Regions from separate parts of the Homo sapiens genome. Here all the other regions are linked to region 1. Evidence: promoter capture Hi-C in 16 types of primary human blood cells and fetal thymus (Javierre and others, 2016). All regions are on one chromosome and are shown on one strand. Each heading gives the region's core, a stretch centred on a gene start or on the middle of the fragment in contact. The rest is flanking DNA. Distances are from core to core; before and after follow the strand shown. Region 1 holds the start of RABGEF1 (RAB guanine nucleotide exchange factor 1). Region 2 overlaps LOC105375336 (a long non-coding RNA gene). Region 3 has its middle 11 kb from the start of ASL.

Evidence for each region. Contacts are between HindIII fragments. The CHiCAGO score rates a contact against its expected background, and 5 or more counts as called.
Region 2: a fragment that was not itself captured here is called in contact with the fragment with the promoter of RABGEF1 in region 1 in 1 of 17 cell types (M0 macrophages); the score reaches 5.5 in M0 macrophages.
Region 3: a fragment that was not itself captured here is called in contact with the fragment with the promoter of RABGEF1 in region 1 in 1 of 17 cell types (neutrophils); the score reaches 5.7 in neutrophils.

Annotation. Positions count from the first base shown.
Region 1 is chr7:66,738,871-66,743,112 of GRCh38, reverse strand. It overlaps RABGEF1 (RAB guanine nucleotide exchange factor 1), which reads right to left and starts at 2,380. Exons shown (of 9, transcript NM_014504.3): 1 at 2,321-2,380. RefSeq lists silencers at 2,157-2,296, 2,317-2,586 and enhancers at 2,037-2,703, 2,717-2,766. The HindIII fragment of the contact is 9,271 bases long and covers 1-4,242 here.
Region 2 is chr7:66,026,448-66,030,689 of GRCh38, reverse strand. The region is part of intron 3 of LOC105375336 (a long non-coding RNA gene); the gene reads left to right. It also overlaps the pseudogene LOC100419772. Among named protein-coding and RNA genes, the nearest start is that of GUSB, 46 kb to the right of the region's middle. The HindIII fragment of the contact is 4,637 bases long and covers 1-4,242 here.
Region 3 is chr7:66,062,963-66,067,204 of GRCh38, reverse strand. No RefSeq gene overlaps it. Among named protein-coding and RNA genes, the nearest start is that of ASL, 11 kb to the left of the region's middle. The HindIII fragment of the contact is 7,771 bases long and covers 1-4,242 here.

The DNA.
Region 1 (4,242 bases), core at 1,131-3,630:
TGGTCTCAAACTCCTGACCTCGTGATCCGCCCGCCTCGGCCTCCCAAAGTGCTGGGATTACAGGCGTGAGCCACCGCGCCTGGCCAGAGAGACCCATTTTAACCACACAAGGACCCAGCTAAAAAACTTCCCCTGGTTCTGTCACCATCAGAGGAAGCCTGAGCTCCTACATCTCTGTCCTGCACTTTTTCACTTTAGTAACGACCCTCCAGGCTCGGTAGCTGATGCCTGTAATTTCAGCACTTGGGACGCTTGAGGCAGGAAGATTGCTTGAGTGCAGGAGTTTGAGATCAGCCAGGGCAACACAGCAAGACAACATCTTTACAAAATATTTAAAAATCAGCTGGGTGTGGTGGCACGCATCTGCAGTCTTAGCTACTCGGGAGGCTGAGGTGGGAGGATCACTTCAGCACAGGCAGTTGAGACTTCAGTGACTCGTGATCGTGTCACTGTACTCCAGCCTGGGTGACAAAGTGAGACCCTCTCTCTCAATAAATAAATTAATAGGCACCTCCTTGTAGTTACTGGCCTCCTCTCCTTTGATTCCCCCCTCTCCCTCACTCCACCCTGTTAGTCTGAATGTTAGTCATTCTTCAAGACACATGCAGAAAGTATTCCCTGATCCCTTCCAGGCTCCACACCCAACAGCATGGCCTAAATGCCCGGCTCCTTCCTCGGTGCTCCATCTTAGCTCACATTCCTTACCACACTGTTTTGAAAGTATCTTGACTGTCCCTTCTCCTCAACTGGCTAACTTCTAGAGAGCAGAAACATGACTGCTTGGAAGGTCATTAAAAATTCAAATCCTGAACATTTCTTAATCCTGCGGATATGAATCAGTGACTCTTAAAAGCAAAATGTTATTTATCATTAAATATTAACAATATAATCACATTTTCTTGCATCTCTGGCAAGTTTCTTGGTACAACAATTTTAAGGAACAGACTCTTAGTTTTTTTTTTGAGATAGAGTCTAGCTCTGTCGCCCAGGCTGGAGTGCAGTGGCACGATTTCGGCTCACTGCAACCTCCGCCTCCCGGGTTCATGCCATTCTCCTGCCTCAGCCTCCAGAGTAGCTGGGACTACAGGTGCCCGCCACGATGCCCGGCAAATTTTCTTTTTCTTTTTTTTTTTTATTTGTAGTAGAGACGGGGTTTCACCGTGTTAGGGAGGATGGTCTCAAGCTCCTGACGTCATGATCCGCCTGCCTTGGCCTTCCAAATGCTGGGATTACAGACGTGAGCCACCGCACCCGGCCGGAACACACTCTTTAACAGCAGTTAAAGCCGCGCAATGGCTCACGCCTATAATCCCAACACTCTGGGAGGCCGAGGCGGGAGGATCACTTAAGGCCAGGAGTTTCACACCTGCCTGGGCAACACTGTGAGATCCCATGTCGAAAAAAATAATAAATAAAAACAAAGCAGTTCTAGGTTTAGAGGGGGGAAAGCAGCTCTCCAGGCCAAAAACCAACTCCCAAGGTGCTCCGGTAAACTCGTCCTGGGAAAATTTCCTACCTAATCTCAAAGGCAAAACGAGCCCACGGGCGCCCACGACACATTTCCCAACCGCAAGGATTGGTCACCCGCGCTGAGACACCGCCAGCTGCCTATGACCTAGCCTCCAAAGCGGCAGAGTCCCTCCCTCTCTCTCCCTAAACTGCCGTGATGGGCATCCCTCGGCTCTCCTCCCAGACGGTTCGGAAGCAGGGACTTCTGCTCCTAACCCCGGCCCCGCAGCCTCGCCCTCAGCCACGGGGTGGAAGTCAGGACCACAGGCTTCAAATCCCCTCCCAACTCCGGGACACTTCTGCCCCCTAGGGTGACGTGGGATCAAGTCCCCGCGCCCCTGCCGCGGCCGGGGGCTGTGGTCTGGGTCCGAGCGTCCCATACCAGCGCTTTCCGGGGAGGTTGTGGGAGGGGCCCCGTGCGACCACAGACGCTGCTTCGGAGCCAGCGGCCTGGACGGAAGGTGGGAGCCGGGGCGAGGGGAGCCGCCGGAGAGGGAGGCGGCCAGGAAATGCTCCGCGTCAGGCCGTCGGGGCTCGGCTGGCGCTGGAGATCCCGGCAACTAGCGTCTGGGACGGAGAGGCCGCACTCTGAGGATTAAGGGAGCCGAGGGCGGCCTGGAACGGGGAAGGCGGCGCTGACGGAGACGGAATGTGGGACGAAGGACAGCGGGAGGCACCGACGCGCAACTGCCCCAGCCGCGCGGATGGCACGGACCGACCGCCCTGCCACCCCCAGCCCGAGACGCCCCGCCGCCCCGCTCCTGTAGCTGAGAGCCGAGCAGCTCTCAGCCCCAGTCCGTCCGCTCCGTACCTCGCCCGCGTCTCCGCCGGCGTCCAAACCACCGCTCGCCCGCTTCGCCCGGGTAGGTCTGGGCTCCGCGGCCAGCTCCCGCCTCACACCCACCCTCCTGCTCGCCCCGCCCCCGGCACCGCCAGCGAACGCACGTTACGCGCGGCGCGTAAACGTCACTTCCGGGGCCTTTGACTCTGGACGGGAGGAAGTGCGAGTGGATCCAAAGGGTCGAGCGGAGTGGGGTACCGCCCTGACGCCCAAGAGCAAATGGAAGAGGGCGGCCTCCGGGGTAAAGGTGGGGCGCTGGGGAGCCCCGGAGAAACCGGCGTTTCCTAGTCTGTCGCTCAGTCCCTGCTTCCGGCTTCCGACGCGCAACAGCTGGAGGGCGACGCTGGCTCCGCGGCGACTCCTGGGGCTGCGGCCGCGGTGGTAGCGCGAATGGGAGGTGGAGCGGAGCTACTGCGCCGAGGGACGCTTCAGAAACTCTGTTTCAGTCCTTCGCGGATCCTAGGATGTGACAGGTGTTCGAGTTAAAAGGTCTTAAGGCGATCGGTTGATCCAAAAGCAGCTGAATCTTTAGGAGGCCCAGGCAGGAGGATCGCTTGAGTCCAGGAGTTCGAGACCAGCCTGGGCCACAGAGCAAGGTCACCATCTCTACAAAAGAAATTTTACAAATCAGCCGGACATGATGGCGGGCACCTGTGGTCCCAACTACCAGGGAGGCTGAGGTGGGAGGATCGCTTGATAGCCCAGGAAGTTGACGGTGCAGAGATCCCTCCACTGAACTCCAGGCCGGGTGACAGCAGAGCGAGATCCTGTCTCAAAAAAAACATAACCGACATCCAGAAGTGAAATAAATTAGCCAGTGTCACAAAGTATTAATGGTTGAGTCACAAATTGAATCCTGTTTACCTGATTCTTTACGTGATTCCCATGTAAGGAATGTTAAAAACAGTAAATACTAATTCCTCTGCGTCCTGAATGCCATGTATGGCGTAACGTGCAGTCACAGCAAGAAAAAAAAGAAAATACTATGCTGTGGCTGTGAGATAGACCTGGGTTAAAATCCCAGCTTTGCTAATTGTCGCTGTAGTGTTCTTGGACAGGTTGCGTAATTTTTCAGTCTATTTTTTTTTTTTTTTTTTTTTTTTTTGAGACTCTCACTCTGTCGCCCACACTGGAGTTCAGTCGTGCGATCTCGGCTTACTGCAACCTCCGCCTCCTAGGTTCAAGCGATTCTCCCACCTCAGCCACCCAAGTAGCTGGAATTACAGGCACCCGCCACCACGCCCAGCTCATATTTTTTTTTTTGTATTTTTAGTCGAGACAGGGTTTCACCATGTTGGCCAGGCTGGTTTTGAATCCTGACCTCAAGTGATCCGCCCACCTTGGCTTCCCAAAGTGCTAGGATTATAGGTGTGAGCTACTGCGCCCGGCCCGAGTTTCTCAGTCTTTATTCATTATTGGTAAAGTAGGGATTAACTGATTCGTTTCTCAGATTCTTCCTAAGTGCCTAATGTGTGCTACGCTGAGGGTACAACAGAGTATAAAACAAAAGTAAGGCCAGGCGCAGTGGCTCACGCCTGTAATCCTAGCACTTTGGGAAGCCGAGGCGGGCAGATCACCTGAGGTCGGGAGTTCAAGACCAGCCTGACCAACATGGAGAAACCCTGTCTCTACTAAAAATACAAAATTAGCCAGGCATGGTGGCACATGCCTGCAATCCCAGCAACTTGGGAGGCTGAGGCAGGAGAATCACTTGAGCCCGGGAAGCGGAGGTTGCAGTGAGCTGAGATTGCGCCATTGCACTCCAGCTTGGGCAACGAGTGAAACTCCTCCTCAAAAAACAAAACAAAACAAAAAAACACAAAGTACCTGTGCTGAGGAGGTGGAGGAGGGAATAAACAATAATTATTTACAGTAGTACCTTGGATGGTGGT
Region 2 (4,242 bases), core at 731-3,230, 710 kb after region 1:
GGGGCCTAGGGTGGGGTTCCCAGGGAAAGGAAAAGAAGGAAAAAGATTGGTAAGACGGAAGATATTCCAGCATTTTTGCCTCCTATTTGGCACTAGCAAAACCATCTGATAGGCTCACTCCAGGTGTAGAAAGAACCATTTATACCTTGACTGTGAATTTTCCATGTGCTAGAGTCTAAACTCAGGAAGACTCAGAGGAGGTCTAGAAGGTAGTAGCTTAAGTGCTGTGGCTCATGCCTGTAATCTCAGCACTTTGGAAGGCCAAGGAGAGAAGACTGCTTGAGGCTATGAGTTAGAGATCAGCCTGGGAAACCTAGCAAGACCCCCAGCTCTTAAAAAAATAAATTAGCTGGGCATGGTAGCAAACACCTACTATGGTCCTAGCTACTTGGAAGGCAGAGGGGAGGTTTGCTTCAGCCCAGGAGTTTGAGGTTACAGTGATGACCACTGTACTCTAGCCTGGGAGACAGCCTTTGGGACCCTGTCCCCTAAAAAAAGCTCCCAGAGTGGAAGACAGCAAAAAGAAAGAAACCGCCTCCCTTCCACATCCCCCCAAAAGAAAAGAAGGTAGTAGAATAAACAGAGTTGGCCATATTCTTTCCTCTCTAAAGGCTCAGTCTCAAGTGGTTGCAGCTTAGAACAGGAAGGAAATGGTTGAATGGTTTTTGGCCAAGCCTTTGGCTTTTAGGAGCCTCCTTGTCCAGTTTGGACTTTGCTAGGCGTTTGGGTGTTTTATCCATTGGGGAAACATTGCATTCATTGATCTCATGCCACTATTTCTGAAAGGAACAGCAGATGAGAGGGGTCGCATTGTATTTAGTGATGGTGTGTGAGCCTGCATTTTCTTCACTTCTGTGGTAGAATCTCTAAAACAGGAATGAGACTGAGATTCCCCCCTGCCTCCAGCACTCTAATGCATGCATGTTTTATCCTTGTGGGGAAAGTTTGCTTCTAAAAATCCATAGCATTTTTTCCTCCCCTTTTTTTGGTAAACTCTGTCTTATCACTTGCTTCAAAATTTTTCTTTTCCAGAAAGAAATTATTATGTTAGATTTTTTTTTTTTTTTTTTTTTTGAGATTGAGTCTCACTCTGTCGCCCAGGCTGGAGTGCAGTGGCATGATCTCGCCTCACTGCAAGCTCCACCTCCCGGGCTCATGCCATTCTTCTGCCTCAGCCTCCCGGGTAGCTGGGACTACAGGCGCCCGCCACCACGCCCGGCTAATTTTTTTTGTATTTTTAGTAGAGATGGGGTTTCACCGTGTTAGCCAGGATGGTGTCGATCTCCTGACCTCGTGATCCGCCTGCCTTGGCCTCCCAAAGTGCTGGGATTAAAGGTGTGCACCACTGCACCTGGCCTATGTTAGATTTTTATACTAGAGAAGCAGAATTCTTTTTTAACAAAATATTTGTTTTAAGAAAATTTGCTTTCAAATAGTATATTTTTGAGATCAGAGGAGATTAGTGATGTGTATATTCATAGGAAATGTTTGAAATTGTTTTTTTTTTTTTGAGATGGAGTCTTGCTCTGTTGCCCAGGCTGGAGTGCAGTGGCGTGATCTCAGCAACCTGCAACCTCTGCCTCCCAGGTTCACGCCATTCTCTTGCCTCAGCCTCAAGAGTAGCTGGGACTACAGGTGCCTGCCACCACGCCTGGCTAATTTTTTGTATTTTTAGTAGAGATGAGGTTTCACCATTTTAGCCAGGATGGTCTTGATCTCCTGACCTCATGATCCGCCCGCCTCAGCCTCCCAAAGTGCTGGGATTACAGGCATGAGGCACCGCACCTGGCCATATTTGAAATATTTTAGGTAAATTAATGAATTTGGATTATTTGGCTTATATAAAAGAGCATTTTTTTAATGTCATATGCCTCTGGGACTCATATTTGCTCAAATCCAAGAATTGGAAGCTGCGTAATGGGCGGGTGAAAGGAAGTACTACAGTTTCCTGTTTATCCTTCAAAACCACTGACCTTAGATAGATATATTTCTCAAATTTATTCATAAACTTCTTTTGTGTATCTTCTCCTGGGTGTTTCATTTACTAACTGATCTGAAAGAGCAGCGTAAAGAAAGTGGAAAGAATAAACACAGCTCTGGGCAACAGAACTTGAACACTATCACCTATGAAGTAAGGCTGGGCTTCTGCCAGGCCTACCTAAAGTACCATTGAGGGAGGGGGGTTTATTCTCCCAACGACTGGCTGCTGAAATCAAGATCGCCTTTTATCTGATTTGAATACTTTTACTGTAACCTGATTTTTATTCTGTTTATAAAAGTGGGAGGAGTTTGGTCAAGTGTAGTGTTTAGCCAGCTACAAAGTTAGAAGGAATAGTCTAAAAGATTGCTCTCACTTCTCCTTGAAAGGGAATCACTGCTCACTGCAGCCTCAACCTCCCAGGCTCAAGTGGTGCTCCGAGCTCAGCTTCCCAAGTAGCTGGGAATATGGGTATGCACTGCCATGCCTGGCTAATTTTTTTGTTGTTGTCCAGGGTGGTCTTGAATCCCTGGGCTCAAGGGATCTTCTCACCGCATCTTTCCAAAGTGCTGGGGACTTAGACACTTAAGGCTATTGTTTATTTTTCAAGTTTCAGATTCTTCCCAAAATATGTAATTATAATTCCTCTCAAATTATATCTGTATTCTTCTTCAAAAGCCACAAATTCTGTGTAATCATGAGAAAATATCAGACCATTGCAAATCAATTTTAAAAAAACACCTTTTATTTTGAAATCATTTTTCTTTTTTTTTTTTGGAGATGGAGTCTCCCTCTTGTTGCCCAGGCTGGAGTGCAATAGCACGATCTTGGCTCACCACAACCTCCGCCTACCAGGTTTAAGTGATTGTCCCGCCTCAGACTCCTGAGTAGCTGGGATTACAGGCATGCGCCACCTCGCCTGACTAATTTTGTATTTTTAGTAGAGATGGGGTTTCTCCATGTTAGTCAGGCTGGTATCGAACTCCCAACCTCAGGTGATCCGCCGATCTTGGGCTCCCAAAGTGCTCGAATTATAGGTGTGAGCCACTGCGCCCAGCCATTTTTCTCTTACATAAAAGTTGTAGAGACAGGTGCTGGGAGTTCTTGTGTACCCTTCCCATAGTTTTCTCCGATGTTAACATCTTACATAACCATGGTCTATACCATGAAAAACCAAGAAATTAACATTGGTACATACTATTAAACTAAGCTAAAATTTTATTTGAATACCTTGTTTTCCCACTGCTGTTTTCTGAGTTCCAGGATTCAGTTCAGGATACCATTTTTTTTTTTTTTTTTTTTTTTTTTTTTTTGAGAGGGAGTCTCTCTCGCTCTGTCGCCCAGGCTGGAGTGCAGTGTCATGATCTCGGCTCACTGCAAGCTCCGCCTCCCAGGTTCACGCCATTCTCCTGCCTCAGCCTCCCGATAGTAGCTGGGACTACAGGCGCCCGCCACCACACCTGGCTAATTTTTTGTATTTTTAGTAGAGACGGGGTTTCACCGTGTTAGCCAGGATGGCCTCAATCTCCTGACCTTGTGATCCACCTGCCTCGGCCTCCCAAAGTGCTGGGATTACAGGTGTGAGCCACCGCACCTGGCTCAGGATACCATTTTATATTTAGTTAACATGTTCCCATAATGTCATTTGTTCTGTGTCCTTACTCTTCCTTTGTCTTCCTTGACACTTGTGAAGGGCTGGTCAAGTATTTTGTAGAACGTCCCTTGATTTGTGATTGTCTGACGTTTTCTTATGATTACACAGAACCTGTGGCTTTTGAGGAAGAGTACCACAGAGGTGATCTCCCCTTCTCGTGTCCTGATATCTCAGGGTACATGATATCGATGTTTCTTTCTTTTTTTTTTTTTTTTTTGAGATGGAGTCTCTCTCTGTTTCCCAGGCTGGAGTGCAGTGGCACAGTTTTGGCTCACTGCAACCTTCACCTCCTGGATTCATTCCATTCTCCTGCCTCAGCCTCCCGAGTGGCTGGGACTACAGGTGCCGGCCACCATGCCCGGCTAATTTTTTGTATTTTTTTAGTAGAGACGGGGTTTCACCGTGTTAGCCAGGATGGTCTCAATCTCCTGACCTCGTGATCCGCCCGCCTCGGCATCCCAAAGTGGTGGGATTACAGGTGTGAGCCACCGTGCCCGGCCAATGTCGGTGTTTCTTATGGCTACTATTGTTAACTTTGGTCATTTGGTTAAGATAGTATCTGCCTGGATTGTCCACTGTAAAGCTACTGTTTCTTCATTTCCATATTATG
Region 3 (4,242 bases), core at 1,221-3,720, 680 kb after region 1:
TGTAATCCCAGCTACTCAGGAGGCTGAGGCAGGAGAATCGCTTGAACCCGAGAGACGGAGGTTGCAGTGAGCCCAGATCACGCCACTGCACTCCAGCCTGGGCGACAGAGCAAGACTGTGTCTCAAAAAAAAAAAAAAAAAGCTGAGGGAGTTTGTTGTCACTAGACCTGCCCTGGAAGAAATGCTCAAAGGAATCCTGCAGGGTGAAATGAAAACACACTAGTCAGTAACTCCAAGCCATTTGAGGAATTAGAGATCTCAATAAAGATAAATACATGGGTAATTATAAAATCTAGTATTATTGTAACAACAGTCTGTATCTCCACTTTTTGTTTTTTGTTTGTTTGTTCGTTTGTTTTTGAGACAGATTTTCCCTCTGTCACCCAGGCTGGAGTGCAATGGTGCAATCTTGGCTCACTGCAACATCCACCTCCCTGGTTCAAGCAATTATCCTGCCTCAGCCTCCCGAGTAGCTGGGATTACAGGTGCTGGTGACCATGCCCGGCTAATTTTTGTATTTTTAGTAGAGATGGGGTTTCACCATGTTGTCCAGGCTGGTCTTGAACTCCTAACGTCAGGTGATCTGCCTGCCTCGGCCTCCCAAAGTGCTGGGATTACTGGCGTGAACCACTGCACCTGGCGTCCACGTTTTGTTTTCTAAACGATTTAAAGAAAGAATATATTTTCAAAAATAGTAGTCTAAAAGCTAGTGTTATTGTAACTTTAGTTTGTAACTCTACATCTTGTTTTCCACATAATTTAAGGGACAAATGTATTTAAAAGAATTATTAGGCCAGGTGTGGTGGCTCATGCCTATAATCTCAGCACTTTGGGAGGCTGAGGCGGGTGGATCATGAGGTCAAGAGTTTGAGATCAGCCTGACCAACATGGTGAAACCCTGTCTCTACTAAAAACACAAAAATTAGCTGGGCGTGGTGGCATGTGCCTGTAATCCCAGCTACTCAGGAGGCTGAGGCAGGTGAATCGCTTGAACCAGGGAGGCGGAGGTTGCAGTGAGCCGAGATCGCATCACTGCACTCCAGCCTGGGTGACAGAGCAAGACTTTGTCTCAAAAAAAAAAAAAAAAAAAAAAAGAATTATTAGTTTTGTTTGGGGACATGCAATGTATAAAGATATAATTTTGTACATCAGCGGACCGGGCGCGGTGGCTCACGCCTGTAATCCCAGCACTTTGGGAGGCCGAGGCAGCGGATCACGAGGTCAGGAGATAAAGACCATCCTGGCTAACATGGTGAAACCCCGTCTCTACTAAAAATACAAAAAATTAGCCGGACATGGTTACAGGCGCCTGTAGTCCCAGCTATTCGGGAGGCTGAGGCAGGAGAATGGCCTGAACCTGGGAGGCGGAGCTTGCAGTGAGCAGAGATCACACCACTGCACTCCAGCCTGGGTGACAGAGCGAGACTCCATCTCAAAAAAAAAAAAAAAAAAAAAAATTTGTACATCAGCAACTGAAAGCGTTGAAGACAAAGCTGGAAATAAAGAGTTTCTATATGTTCTTGAAATTTTGCATGTTATTAAAGTATATATCTCTTTTACTTAGGTCTTCTTTAACTTCTCTGAGCAACATTTTATAGTTTAAAGCGTACACACGTTCACATTTGTCTTAGCTTCCTAGGGCTGCTATAACAAATTACTATGAACAAAAATTTCTGTTGATCTGGCTTAAAACAACAAATTTATTTTCTCTTAGTTCTAGAGACTAGAAATCTGAAATAAAGGTGTCAGCAGAGCCATCCTCTTTCAAAGGCTGTAGAGGGGAACGTGTTCCAGAATCTGTTTCTTTCTCTTCGCTTCTGGTGTCACCGTTAATGTTTGGCATTACTTGATTTGCAGCTGCATAACTTCAATTTCTACCTCCATCATCACATGGCATTTTCCCCCTGTGTCTTCACATTGTTTTCTTATAAGGACACCAGTCATATTGTATTGAGAGCCCACCTACTCCAGTATAACCTCCTTTTAACTAATTCCATCTGAAATGACCCTGTCTCCAAATAAGGTTATAACCTGAGGTAGCAGAGGTTAAGACTTCAACCTATATATCTGGAGAACACAATTCAACTCATAACAACATCTGTTATCAGATTTAGCCATAAGTATTTCACATTTTTGATGCCATTATAAATTGTATTATTAACTTACTTTTAATTTCTGATTCGTTGTTGCTAGCATATGGAAATACACTTAATTTTTGTGTTGATCTTATATCCTACTTTTTAAAAATAGATTTTATTAAATTTTCTACATAGATAGTCATCTGGGAATAAGTAGAATTTACTTCTTCCTTTCTAAATTGAATGTCTTTTTTAAAAAACCTCATTGAGGCTGGATGCAGTGGCTCATGCCTGTAATCCCAGCACTTTGAAAGGCCGAGGCAGGCGGGTCACCTGAGGTCAGGAGTTCGAGACCAGCCTGACGGGATAAAACTCTGTCTCTACTAAAAATACAAAAATTAGCCAGGCACAGTGGTGCGTACCTGAAGTCCCAGCTACTCGGGAGGCTGAGGCAGGAGAATCTCTTGAACCCGGGAGGTGGAGGCTGCAGTGGGCCAAGATTGCACCACTGCACTCCAGCCTGGGTGACAGACCAAGATTCTGTCTCAAAAAAAATAAAAAATAAAAAATAAAAACCTCATTGCAGTGGCTAGATTATTTTGTACAAAAAAAAGAGAGAATATTTTGTACAGTGCTGAATAGAAGTGAGGGGAGTGGACATTCCTGTCTTGACCTGATCTTTATGGGAAAGCATTTAGTCTTTCACCATCAAGCATGCTGTTATTTGTAGGTTGTTTGATGGTGCCCTTTATCAGTTTGAGGAAGTTCTCTTCTATTTCTAATTTGCTGAATTGATCCTGTCAAACACTTTTCTGAATCTATTGAAAGATATTAATGGTTTTCTTTTTTAGTTTAATAAAGGAGTTACATTGATTGTTTAAAAATAGACTTACTGAGATATAATTCATATAGCATAAAATTCACACATTTACAATGCACGATTCAGTGATTATTATACTCAAAAGTTATGCAACCATTGCCACAGCTTAATTTAAAAACATTTTCATTGGCTGGGCATGATGGCTCACGCCTGCAATCCCAACACTTTGGGAGGCCAAGGTGGGCAGATCACAAGGTCAGGAGTTTGAAACCAGCCTGGCCAACATGGTGAAACTTGTCTCTACTAAAGATACAAAAAATTAGCTGGGCGTGGTGGCACGTGCCTATAATCCCAGCTACTTGGGAGACTGACGCCAGAGAATTGCTTGAACCTGGGATGCAGAGGTTGCAGTAAGCCGAGATCACGCCACTGCACTCCAGGCTGGGTGACAGGGTGAGACTCCATCTCAAAAGAAAAAAAAAAAAAAGAAAGCAAAAAAATTTTTCATAAAAGAACTCCACAGCTATTAGCAGTCTAAAAATATTTTCTTCCATGCTGTGGATTGTCTTTTCACTTTCTTGGTTGCATCATTTGCAACAAAAATGTTTTTAATTTTGATGAAGTCCAGCATATTTCTTTTTTCTTTTTCTTTTTGTACTTTTGGTGTCATATCTAAGAAAACTTTACCTAGCCCAAGGTCATAAAGATTTACTCTTGTTTTCTTCTAAGAGTTTTATAGTTTTAGCTCTTAAATTTAAGTCTATGCTCCAGTTTGAGTTAATTTTTCTATATAGTGTGAGGTAGGGGTGCAAGTGATTCTTTTGCATATGGATATGTAGTTACCTTTGCAGTAGTTGTTGCAAAGACAAATTATGGCCTAGTAGTATCTCATCATGGATTTAATTTGCATCTCTTTCGTGAATAATGTTGAGCATCTCTTCATATGTCTATTGGCTATTCGTGTATCTTCTTTGGAGAAATATCTATTCAAATCATTTTCTCATTTTTATATTAGGTTGTCTTTTCAAATATCCCCATTAAAATGTCTTGACATTCTTGTAAAAAATCAGTTGGCCTAAATGTAAGGTTTTCTTTCTTTCTTTATTTCTTTTTTCTTTTTTTTTTTTTTTTTGGAGACAGAGTTTTACTCTTGTTTCCCAGGCTGGAGTGCAATGGCATTATCTCGGCTCACCGAAAACTCTGCCTCCCAGGTTCAAGCGATTCTCCTGCCTCAGCCTTCCCAAGTAGCAGGGATTACAGGCATGAACTACCACACCTGGCTAATTTTGTATTTTTAGTAGAGATGGGGTTTCTCTATGTTGGTCAGGCTGGTCTCAAACTCCT